Linked DNA regions of Homo sapiens: region 1 is linked to region 2. Evidence: promoter capture Hi-C in 16 types of primary human blood cells and fetal thymus (Javierre and others, 2016). All regions are on one chromosome and are shown on one strand. Each heading gives the region's core, a stretch centred on a gene start or on the middle of the fragment in contact. The rest is flanking DNA. Distances are from core to core; before and after follow the strand shown.

Region 1 (5,606 bases), core at 2,523-5,022, 2.6 Mb before region 2:
CAGATGGACTCAGGCCTGGGAAGGAGTCTGACCCTGGGGACCCCATCTGAACATTCCCAGGTGCAAGGCAGGCTGGGGGTCAGAGAGTCCTGACTATGAGGACACTGAGGCCCAGAGAAGGGCCACAGGGAGAGACAGCCCAGCCCTCCTAAGCTGCACCGTCGGGATGGGTACCTTCCCAGGCCTGGGATGGGTCTCGGCCAGGGCTCCCCATGGAGGTCTCCTCAGCCCACCTGCCCACCTTCTCCAGTAGGTAGCTGTGGATGTGTCCTCCGATCGGGTCCCCCTTGAAGTCAAAGTTGATGTCCATGTACTTGCCAAAGCGGCTGGAGTTGTGATTGCGGTTGGTGCGGGCATTGCCAAAGGCCTCCAGCACACAGGTGGACTTGAGCAGCACGTCCTTGACCCTGTCAGGGCAGAGGGGCTGGGTCTTAAGGCAAAGACTTCCCATCTGGGGAATGCTGTCTCTGCCCCTGAGTCTTCCCAACAGAAATCACAGCATCTCAGGATGAGTTCCTCTGAACTTGCTGAGAGGGAACCAATGGCCTGGCCTCGCCCAGTGTTGCCTCTGAGGTTGTGTGACGGTCACTTCACCTCTGAGAGGCTGGGAAATGCACTTGCCGGGCTGGCTGTGCTCAGCATGGTCTGTGTAGCATTGAGGTCCTTGTTTCTCACAGCCACCTCTTCCCCTCCCAGGCCTCAGCTGCAGCCTGGGGAGGAGGGGCTGTTCTGACCACTGGGCTTTAGACCTCCAGCTGCAGGGGTGGGCAGTGGTGCTGGCCATATGTGCTCAGGAACTGACATTGCTTGTCCCCCCTGAATCCCATCTCGCTGCCTCTTGATAGGAAGAGACAGGCACTGACAGAGGAAGCTGCTTCCATAAGGGACAGGTTTCCTGGTTTCAAGGCTCCTGGCCATCACCCACACAGCCACCTGGCATGCTTGGCCATCTTGGCCAGGGCCTGCCAGCTTCTCCAGGTTTCCATGGAATCTGCCTGCTGCCCTGTCCATGAGCCATTTCAAGCATCTCTGGGCCCTGCTGCACTTCTCCTCATCCTACCTGTGGCTGCTGCCTCCTCCCAGCTGGTAGGCCCAGTACCTTGGCTAGGTCTCACCCACCCAAGGAGAGGTCCTTGGCATGGGTCACCCTGTCTCACCTCCGGGTGTGTTGGCATTATCTGGAAACTTCCCAAGTTCCCACTGAACTTGACCTGAGCTAGACTCCAGTTGCCGTCTCTCACTCCCCAGAGCCAGCCCTTCCTGCCACACTGAGGTCCCTGGCCTGCCATGCTGAGGCCCAGAGCTGCCCATTGCCACTCACCTCTCCACCTCAGCCCTCTGGCTTGGATTGGTGACAGCAGCGATGTACTGCATGATGTGCTTACTGGCTTCTGTCTTCCCTGCCCCACTCTCCCCTGCCGGAAAGACCAGAGTTGAGAGAATCAGCCAGGTTCGCTCTCTTAGCCCAGCTCCCTGTGCCCACTCACACCCCCAAGACTGGCAAGATGGGGTCCTAGGGCCCCCATCAGGACACAGGGCACAGGAGATGCTCTAATGGCCCTCCCAAATGTTCACAAATGAAGATGCCGAGGGTGGGGGCCCGGCGGCAGGGACAGGTACCTGAGATGACGATGCAGGTGTCCCTGGACCGGTGCTTCATTGCCTTGTAGGCGGCGTTGGCCACAGCATAGAGATGGGGTGGCCGCTCATAGAGCTCACGGCCCTGGTACCTGGCGATGGCCTCAGGCCCATACAGGGGCAGCTCCTGGTAGGGGTTCACGGACACCAGCACCTCACCGATGTAGGTGTAGATGCGGCCCTTCTCGAACCTGGACACAGCAGGGGTAGGCCTCAGCACTCACAGGCTTACAGGCACCCACAGGCCTTTCGCCAGAGCCCATATCAGGGCCTGGCCCCAGTAGGCCAGCGCTCCCACCCTGACGGGCTGAGAGTGGAGAAGGAAGAAGGGGGCAGGTGTTGACCTTGCGTCTCCCTGGTGCCATCCTGGGTGAGCTGAGCCACTCAGAGACTGTCTCCATTGCGGCATAGAGTTTGGGGTCCACAGTGGTCTCCCCAGGGATCCCAAGGTCACTGGAAACATGACCACTCATTTTGCAAAGGAAACAGACTTGCCCAAGACTGCACTGGGTGCCGTGAGTCAGGGCTGGCTCCTGGGGTGAACCCCGCAGGGCAGATGGGGAGATGGGGTTGAGAAGTGACTGGGCTGGGAGGGGAAGGAGGGGCCTCCTCGGCTGTTTCCTGTCTCAAGGCCTGGGCGGGAACCCAGAGACAAAAGGGGACCCCACCCAGCCCCACCCAGATGACAGGGAGGGAGTTGATGTCGTTGTCTTTACACCCCCGACCCCCCAGCCTGTGGCCAGTGGCTGCTGCCTCTCCCCTGGCACAGCCTCAGACTTCTTGACCCTTTCCTTCACAAACCTGGTCCCCAGTGGGGGTGGATGTCTGCCCTTCTCTTGACCTTTCTGCCCCTGGGAGGAGGACTGGCAGGCCTGCCCCTCAGACCCATCTCCCCTTGGTGTGTGGTACCCACCCTTCCCTGGATGGCCCTGTCTCCCGGCAGCCTGTCCTGGGTGGGCCTGTCCTGAGGTTCCTCTTTCTCCACCACCTCTGACATGGGTTTTCCTGGGCCTAGCTCCCATCCTCCTACAAGCTGGGGATGAGGGCACAAGTCACCCACGTCTCCAGGGCTCAGTGTTCTCCTCATCAAAATAGAGAGGACAATGTTTCATAAGCTCATTTTATAAGAATGAGGTAGAACAATGTGCACAAAGTGCTTAGCTCACGTCCTGGCTAGCCCTCCTCTTTGAGCCAGGCTCGTGGTCTCTTGCCTTCGGTGCTTAGTGGGGATCCTGGTCCCCAAGCTCTCCCCAGGGAGCTTCCGGAGTACACAGCGAGTGGCCTTCTGCCCCTCCCTGGGAGTCCTGGCAGGAAGCCCAGCTGCCTGTATGGCCACCCTACTGTGCCATGCCCCTACCTCCCGGGCTTCTCCCTGCCCTCCACCTGCCCTCCTTGATGGTAAATTGGGCTCCAATATCACTTCTACCAACTGTGTCCTGTGATACTCCATGTACCCCAGGAGAATGTCACCTCAACTTGGTGGGAATGTTTGGACCCTAGGGTGGAGCCTGACTGCTTCATCTCAGTGTCCCCAGGGCTCAGGCCAGGCCCCATGGATGAGATGCATCGAGGGAGCATCAACAACTGGCTGGGAAGTGGCTGGAGGGAGGTGCCCCTGGTCCCTCCTGGAAAGATAGTGCCTGGTATGTATCTGTCCAAGAAGTGTCATGCCCTGGCCCCGTCGGGCAGGAAAGAAGGGGCAGAAGATGCCTGGACTGTGTGGGAGGCAGGGGTGGGTTGAGGTGGTGGGCAGCTCCGGTGCTGACTTGCCAGCCCTGACAGGGACAGTTGCCTCCTTGTCTGTTCCTGTCCCCTGGGGCCGTGCTTTGAGGCACTCATTTCAGCCCCATCTGGTCTGGGTGGGTGTGTGCCACTGCCCCCTCCCTTGGACAGCAGCGTGCCTTCCTCTTTCCCTCAGGTCTCTGCGAGGACGCAAGGTGGGAGACCCTGGAGGAGGGGAGCCACTGCCTCCTGCCCTGGGCCTACCTGAGCTGCAGGTTCCTCATGAAGTCCTCCATGGTCACTTGGTCCAAAAGCACAAAGTCAGGTTTGCCATACTCAGGGCCTTCCTCGTCCTCCATCCTGCCGGCTGGAAACACCTTGCCTCACCTTCCTGTGCCTGCTGGAAGGACAGTGAAGGAGAGGGGGAGGGAAGGCTAGGGGAGGCCCCACCGCCCCCGCCCTGCCCCACCAGCCTCCTCCAGTGCTGGTGTAAAGTAGGAAGTGGGTTCTAGTCCTGGGAGGGGCTGCCCTCCGCACTTGCCACTCCTTCCCCCTCGAGGTGCTCTAAACCCTGCTTCCTGTCCCTGCGCCCCACAAGGAGGCTGTGCCTAACGGTCTGACCCGTTTGCACGCCAGGGGCGAGGGGCCGGATGCTGGGTCCTCCCCGCTTTGGAGGGTTCTTCGCTGGCCTCCTTCGGAAGCTCCCCTCCACCCACAAGCAGGAGACAAGACTCCGTGGGTTGGCTTCCAACCCTGGCAGCACGTTAGAGTCACTTGTGGGACTTTAAAGAAAGATTTTTTGACGTGATCTTGGTTACCTGGCTGTGTGTGTCTCTCAAGTCAGAACTGAACACTAGATGCAATATACTGTATGTACATTGTACATTAATACAAAAATGAAAAAGGATCCTAATGCCCAGGCCTTTGGGGTGGGGGCAACAGCCTTCTTTGCAGTGTGAAGGCCACACTGGGGTGTAGACGAGCAAAGCTTCTTGTGTGACCTGCCAAGGGCCAGTGGTCCTAGCACTGCAATTCCCCACCCCAGCCACGGGGGAGGGACAGAGGACCCCAGAGCATCCTCTGCATGGGGCTGGCCTTCAGTGGGACCCCTGTGCCCCTAACTGTCCTCTGCCTTGTACTTGTGTCCAGCCGATCCCCCATAAACTGCAGTGAGGACCAGGAACATGCCTGGAGCCCTGTGGCCTCATCTCAGAGCTGCTGTCCCTGCACTTTGAAGATGAGGCAGCGCATTTGGGGAGCGGCTGCATTTAGGGAGTGGCCAAAATCTCCAGACACTGCATTCCTGACACTTAGTGCTCCTGGAAGAAGTGGGAGGGGTGCAGTTCTCTTAGCTTCCAGGCAGACTGGAAAAAGTTCTTTTTCATCCCAGGACAGACTGGGGCAGGTCACACCCATCCTCTAGGAACACTGGGGCGATTCTCTCATCAAAGGTCAAATGGATGCAGTTCTCTCTCATCCTACAAATAGACTGGTGACATTTCTCTTTCACCCCTTCCCTCATACAGGGAGGTCAAAGGGCAGACTCCAGAATTCCCAAACTTCAGTCATTCATGTGCTGCCTTTGAGATTTGTTGTACTCATAAGCACTAGTTTAACTATTGTCTTTCAGTCATCCCATTTTTTAAACTTTGAAGTAATGGATAGGCAAGTTAAGTTTATTTTTTTCTCTCGAATACCTTAAAGCAAATGCATTCCTGATAAAACTGAAAGTACTTATTCAAGTACCTAATAAAACTGAGTCACGCACCACTGCAATAAGGGGCCACTGGCCTGAAAAATCCCCAAATTTGTAAGTGGGCAGCCTCTGGCTCCACCCTGGGCCAGACCTGGGGCTCCTCTTGGGCAAATTCAAAGTCAGTCCTTCGGAACTCTGACAAGTGTGGCCTCCTCCCCACCCCCAGGCTCTTGGGCTGGTGCTTTTGAAGGGTTTCCCAAACCTACACTCAAGTCTGGGAATTCTCACCCAGACTCTTGCCAGCTCATCTGTCTTTTCAAGTTTCACTTCCCCAACCCCCAGGGAGTCAAGCCAACCAGTGGAACCAAGATGGCTGTATTCCAGTAAAACGTTAAGGACACCGAAATCTGAACTTCGCAAACTTTTCATCTGTCACGTAATCATACTATTTTGGGTATTTCCCCCACCACTAACCACTTAAAAATGTCAAGACCACTCTTAGCTCAGAGATTTGGCTGGTGGGAGGAGTTTGCCCGCCCTTGCTTTAGCT
Region 2 (5,696 bases), core at 1,979-4,478:
ACTCTAAGATTCAAAACGCCCTCAATCTAGGAGAATTTAGTCCTGCTCAGCAGCATTTTGGTGGCAGCGATTTTTCTTGTCTCAGCGTTTTAGGAGCAGTGAGGCAGCGTGGAAACGACACAACTGTGAGCCATGATCCCTGTGAAGATGAAGCCACGCAACACGCCCTTCACTGTGGGGGCAGAAAGAAAGAACTGTGTTCCATGTTGTGATGGTTTTTAATACTCTTGCTGTGAGGAAGAGAGTAACTAAGTTAATCAACCACCTACTTAATTAACCAACTAACCAGCATCCCTCATTCTAGATCAACAAGGATAGCAGCAGAGGATTCTAGGTAGACAGGACTGGCTCTAGGTCATTCCAGGCACAGCTTGCAGGGGTTAGCTGATTCCCCAGTGATTTCTGGGGTCCTACAGGAAGGACCCGGGGTCCCAGGGTCAGCTGACCTCCTGGAGAGCTTCAGACGCCCAGACCCACCCTTCCCATGATAGCTCCTGCTGCATGGGGCAAACCCACCAGATCAACCCGCAAGACAGGAGGCCCCTCCCTGGGAAATCTATGGGGGCCGCTGTGAGGAAGCCTCGAAGCCTCAATTCTAAGCGTGCTGCTGAGGCACTCAGCAAATGTCTCTGGCTTCCTAGTAAGTGGCAGGGATCTAAACAATGCTTTCTGCCCTCAGGAAGGTGGAAAGTTCCTCCCCCTCTCAAGTTCATACACAGGGACACAGGGAGGGAACAAGAGGCTTCCCCTGAACAGGGGTGGTTTACAACAGGCTGATCTTAAGAAAGGAATGGGGCACATAGAGTCAGAGAACTGGGCTCATTCAGATCCCTAACTGTTCCCAGACTTTAAGAATTTACTTGGTATTTTACTCATCTGTAAAATGGGTCCTTGTGTAGAGTCCTAAGCAGATATAAGCTGCGACTGCCAAATGGTAGGTCAGCCCTTCCACTCACTGTTCTTGCCATACTGCCTCCTCCTCAGGTCTCTGCTATCCCCTTCAGCAACACCTCCTGCAGTGGAAGAGCATACTTTGACACCCCCTCTCCTGCCCTTTATTTCCAGAGTCACATTTGCAAACAGCTCACTTTCAAAACATTAGGTGCCAAAGAGACACTTTGTTAAAAAAAAAAAAATCAATTTGCATTCAGGAATAAGTAGTGCCCTGGGGCTACTAGTTTTTCTATCTTGGTAGTTTTTTAAAGACATAATTCAGCTGAGCTGCTGATAGCTATGGCAGCCTCAGCTGAGGAATCGCTGTCTGGACATGCATTAGAATTCAGTCGACAGACGCGCAGCAGCAGCCAGGAACAGGGGTCTGGGACCCTAGAGTCCTGTCCCAGAATCCCAGGCTGCACTACCACCATGTTTCATTTCATCTCGGCCAAGTTACTTAGCCTTCCTTTGCCTCAGTTTACTCGTCTGTAAAATGGGGTAATCATAATCCCAACTCCCTCCAAGGAATGTAATTTGGGTGAAATGAAATGAATGCATGCAAAGCATTTAGCACAGGCAAACACTCAATCGGTATGCCTGTTACTTTGTCTTCGGGGTCACCATTACTATTCCTAAGGTCAGGAGTCGGGCTTGCTGCCAGTTCCTCCTGTCAATTCCCTGTGTACACACCCCCCACCCCCTGTGCTACCACACCCCCACCAGGACCCAGTGCACCTCCATCTCTGTGTAATGGCCTTGCCCCTCCACCCTCCAGCTGCAGCGACTCCCCACCCCCTCCCTGGCCCTCAAGGCCTCAGCACAGAAAAGCCTTTCTTAATACTTGTTGATTGATTTGCAAATATAACCTCACAGGCCCCAAAGAGAGAAGAACCAGAATCACCAGAACAAGTAAACCTCATTCAAAAGGGAAAGCATGAAAGCAATTTAAAAAATTAATATGCACAGACCAAAGCCTCAAGAAAATCTAAAATGTCAAAGGGTTGGTTAGTTCAGAAGGGCCATGCAATATTAATACAATGAGTTCTGCATTCATACTTTTCAGTATATTTTCAGAGTCCTCCATGATCATGCATTCAAATAGTGAAAAAAATGGGGGGAAAGCCAACCCGGAAGATCAAAGTGTGTGAATGCGCCCCAAGGAAGCCTGGGGGCTTCCCAGGGGGTTGTGACCACCCTCAGTAGTGCTCTCTGCTGGCCCCACACCCTGATGGCGCTTTGAGTTTTTCAACCACGCTGGAGTTCGGGTCATCTGCTGACACTGTCTGGAGAATGCCTGAGGAACGCCTGAATCTCTTCCCGCCACAGACACTCAAATCACTCCAAGCAAAGGACCCGGGACTCACATGTCAGGCCGCTGCACAGCACCGACACAGAGACCCCTGGGCCGTCCGGGACCCTCCCTCCTCCTGCTTGTCAGCGACAGCTCCCGCGTGCCAGGAGGCACATGCCACACAGCTGGCCCCCAGCCTGGGACAGCACCCCCCACCCCAGAATATCCCCCCACCCCGAGGTCCCGTCCTTCAGGGAAAAAAAGGAAGCGCGTAAAGACCCCCTGCCTCCCACCCACCAAAGGGAAAGGGAAAGAGACGCACTGGAGAGCTTGCCTAGAAAAAGTAGGAGAAGGGTCTTGAGCCTGCCCATTGAAGCCCCTAGCTGCGCTCTCCACCTGGAGTCTCGAGACGGAGTCCTAGGGAGCAAAGTCCGCTCGGTCCCGACAGCGACTGCGACATAGCTGCTCCGGTCTCTGCCCTCAGTCCAGGGCGCCCGGGCGCCACGGGTCCCACTCGAGTGGTCCTGCGCCCCAGCCAGTCCCCAAACCCAGCCAGTCAGCGCCCCCGTCCCCGGACTCCGGCGAAGCTGGCCCGCGCCCCAGCCCCTGTCCTGGGACTCCTGCCGAGCCCCCGCCCCCCACGCGCCGCAAACCCCGTACCCGCGCGCACCAAACCCCTTGCCCGTGCGCCCCCAACCGGGTCCCCGCGCTCCCTAACCTGGGTTCTCCCGTGACCCCATCCCCGCGCCCTGAGCTCCCGTACCCCGCGCTCCCCGAACTCTGTCTCCGCGCTCCCCGAACTCAGTCCCCGCGCCCCAGCTCCAGATCTCTGTGCTCCCCAAGCCTCGTTCCTGCGCCCGGAGCGCGAAAGCCCGCGCCGGGCCCGAAACAAAGAGGACCGCGGCGCGTGGCCGCGTTTCCTCCTTCCCCGGCCCCAGTACCTGGGGGAGCCTGAGGCGCGGTCCGGCAGGGCGATGGCCGCAACGAGGCTGGGCTCCGAGTAGCGCGCGGGCGGGCCCGTCCTCCTGGCTGGCTGCCGGCGCCCGCGGCAGGGCCCCCTCGAGGCGGCGCGGGCAATCGCCACGGCCGGCCCCCGCGCCCGCGCCCCGAGCCTGGCGGGTCACCTGGCCTCATCACCCTAACAATGCAGCGCGCCTCCAGGCGCCCTTCACCGGGGTCCCCCGCCCTGCCGAGGTGCGCCCTGGGACCTCCCTTCGCTGGCCGCAGAGAGGACCTGGAATTATCAGACCCATTGAGCAGCCCAGGCTCCAAGTGGTCTGGAGGCTTGCAGGTTCCGCCGGGCCGGTGTTAGAGTACCTGGGGAGGCGGGTTCGGATCCTGGTTCCTGCACAACCAGTTCATTCTTTCATTCAGCGCCTGTGATTAAGGTGCTCTCCGGGAGCAAGACCTACCCTCCCTCCTGTAGCTCATAGCCTAGTGGGAGTCGCGCATACATAAAGGAGCACAGCCGCTCCGGAAAGCCTAGGGTGCCGTAGAAGCCCCTGAAATACCCAGCTAATGAAGGGAGGAGGTCAGGGAAGTCTTTAGAAGTCACATGACTTCTTAAAATGCGCCGGGACAAATGAGCAGAATTTAGGCAAGCCAGGGGAAACCAGAAAAACGATCCCGAGCAGAGAGATTCTCAGAGGAGGAAAGGCCTATAGGTTGTCCATCCTGACTGTCCATCCCTGAGATTCAGATGGCCCTGAACTCAGTCGCTTAGCCTCAGTTTCCCCATTTGTGAGATCGGGGGAATGGAAAAAGTTTGCAGAAATCAGAAGTGCTCTTCCTCCAGGGAGGTCACAAGAGAAATTTCATCAGCGGTTTGTCCTGTGGTCCTTTCCAGGAAAACATCCTCCCCGCCAGCCTCTCACAGAAGAGACCTAGATTTCATCTGCCACGTGGAGCAGGCGGTCTCAGAATCCCACCCGGAGCAGGGTCCAGGGCAAGTCTTGGAGGACAGTCACCAAGAACTGCTTTGGATTCGGGAACAGAGCTGCCTAACCCATCCGCAGCCCTGGGGTCCTGCCCTGTTCCTCTGGCCCCTTCAGGGCAGCGGGGGAAGCAGGGAAAACAGCCTGTCAGAGATGGCAGAGAAACCGAGCAAGAATAATTATCCTGGAAAAGACTTTCAGAAGTAACCACCAGAAACTTCGAGTCCCCAGATCCAAACAGCTGAGAATGTGGGGCCTGAGCCACGCTCTGACTCCACTCCCACCACATGAGGAGAAACAAGAGCTGCTTTTCTGGAAGACTTGAACAACCCCTGCTGTGCTCTGGAAGGTAGTGTCATTTCTCATCCCCAGACTGATCTGGGTATTTATTCCCAGGCAAAGGCTTCATGAGCACCATGCCCCAGCCCCTAGAGATGAGGCAGGCATTTTTCCTACACTCTAGGAGACACCAGGTCAAGAGTCAATGAGATGAGTCAAGGGGTGCCAGGGAAGATGCCATAGGGGAAGGTGGGGAGGAGGTCACAGCCAGCTGGGTTAGGAATGGGGGTGAGGCTGGTACTGTTACGATCTCCTTTGTCCTGATAAGGAAACAGGATCTGACATTCTAGGCAACTTGTTCAAGGTCACCCACCTGGTCAGGCGAAGAAAGTGGGAGGGATCAGGACTATCTGGCCTTGAGGCTACTCTTAACTTCTTCCCAGCTGCCTGCCCACACCATCCACTCTGTGCAATTGGACTAAATCATCACTTTGCTCAACCCTCTCTTCCATTAAGACCGTGGTGATCTTCACACCCAGAGCCAATTACGTGCTATTCTGTGCATCACAGAAACCATCATAATGCCAAAAACCATGTTGGCTGAATGACAACATGAATTTGAGCTTCTTGCAGTGTTAGGGCACCCATTTACAGGAGGTGACACTGTTGTTTGTCTGAGAGCTCACAGTCAGGAAAACTCAGTGCAGTGCTGGGGTTCTCTGACCCTTTGTCAGGGAGCCTCTTCTAAAATCTCTCCAAACTGCTACCCACACCCAAGCCAGATGGCCCCACCGGCCACACTGCCCTTGTTGGGGTAGCAATGGAATGGGATGCCCCAACCACACCTTTGTTTCTAGAAAAACTGTGACTTGGGTGCTCATTCGTGCAGTGTCTGTGGTTATATTCCCTGGCAGTGTCCCAAGAAAGGAGAAGAAAAACCGGGCTCCAGTATCCCCACGCACTCTGTGTTGGCTGGGATGGCTGTTCCCCGGGTTCCCCACACCTCGTCTAGAGGCACATGAAGGGAAGCCTCTCTGGATCCCCAATCGGGACCTGGGCCCCTTCCAGAGCTTCGCTTCCCCAGCCCAGGGCCTCCCCACTTCGCAGGCTGCAACTTCAAGTTTCCAAGAAATTAAACAAAAACAGGGCATGAACCAGTATCTGAAAAAGGGAATGTGCATTTTTTCCATCCTTAGCCATCCAAAAAAAACTCAACTTTGAAAACAAAAGTCTCCAACATTTAGCTGAAAAAAAAA

Evidence for each region. Contacts are between HindIII fragments. The CHiCAGO score rates a contact against its expected background, and 5 or more counts as called.
Region 1: a contact is called between the fragment with the promoter of MYO1G here and the fragment with the promoter of TNS3 in region 2, in 1 of 17 cell types (M0 macrophages). The highest score is 7.3, in M0 macrophages.

The regions. Positions count from the first base shown.
Region 1 is chr7:44,975,243-44,980,848 of GRCh38, forward strand. MYO1G (myosin IG) reads right to left here and starts at 3,773. Exons shown (of 22, transcript NM_033054.3): 1 at 3,625-3,773; 2 at 1,621-1,829; 3 at 1,322-1,415; 4 at 242-407. The coding sequence starts at 3,719. RefSeq lists a silencer at 3,716-3,805 and enhancers at 4,006-4,075, 4,106-4,155, 5,383-5,512. The HindIII fragment of the contact is 4,854 bases long and covers 1-4,346 here.
Region 2 is chr7:47,578,883-47,584,578 of GRCh38, forward strand. TNS3 (tensin 3) reads right to left here and starts at 3,229. Exons shown (of 31, transcript NM_022748.12): 1 at 3,169-3,229. RefSeq lists enhancers at 2,565-3,102, 3,103-3,640. The HindIII fragment of the contact is 9,706 bases long and covers 1-5,696 here.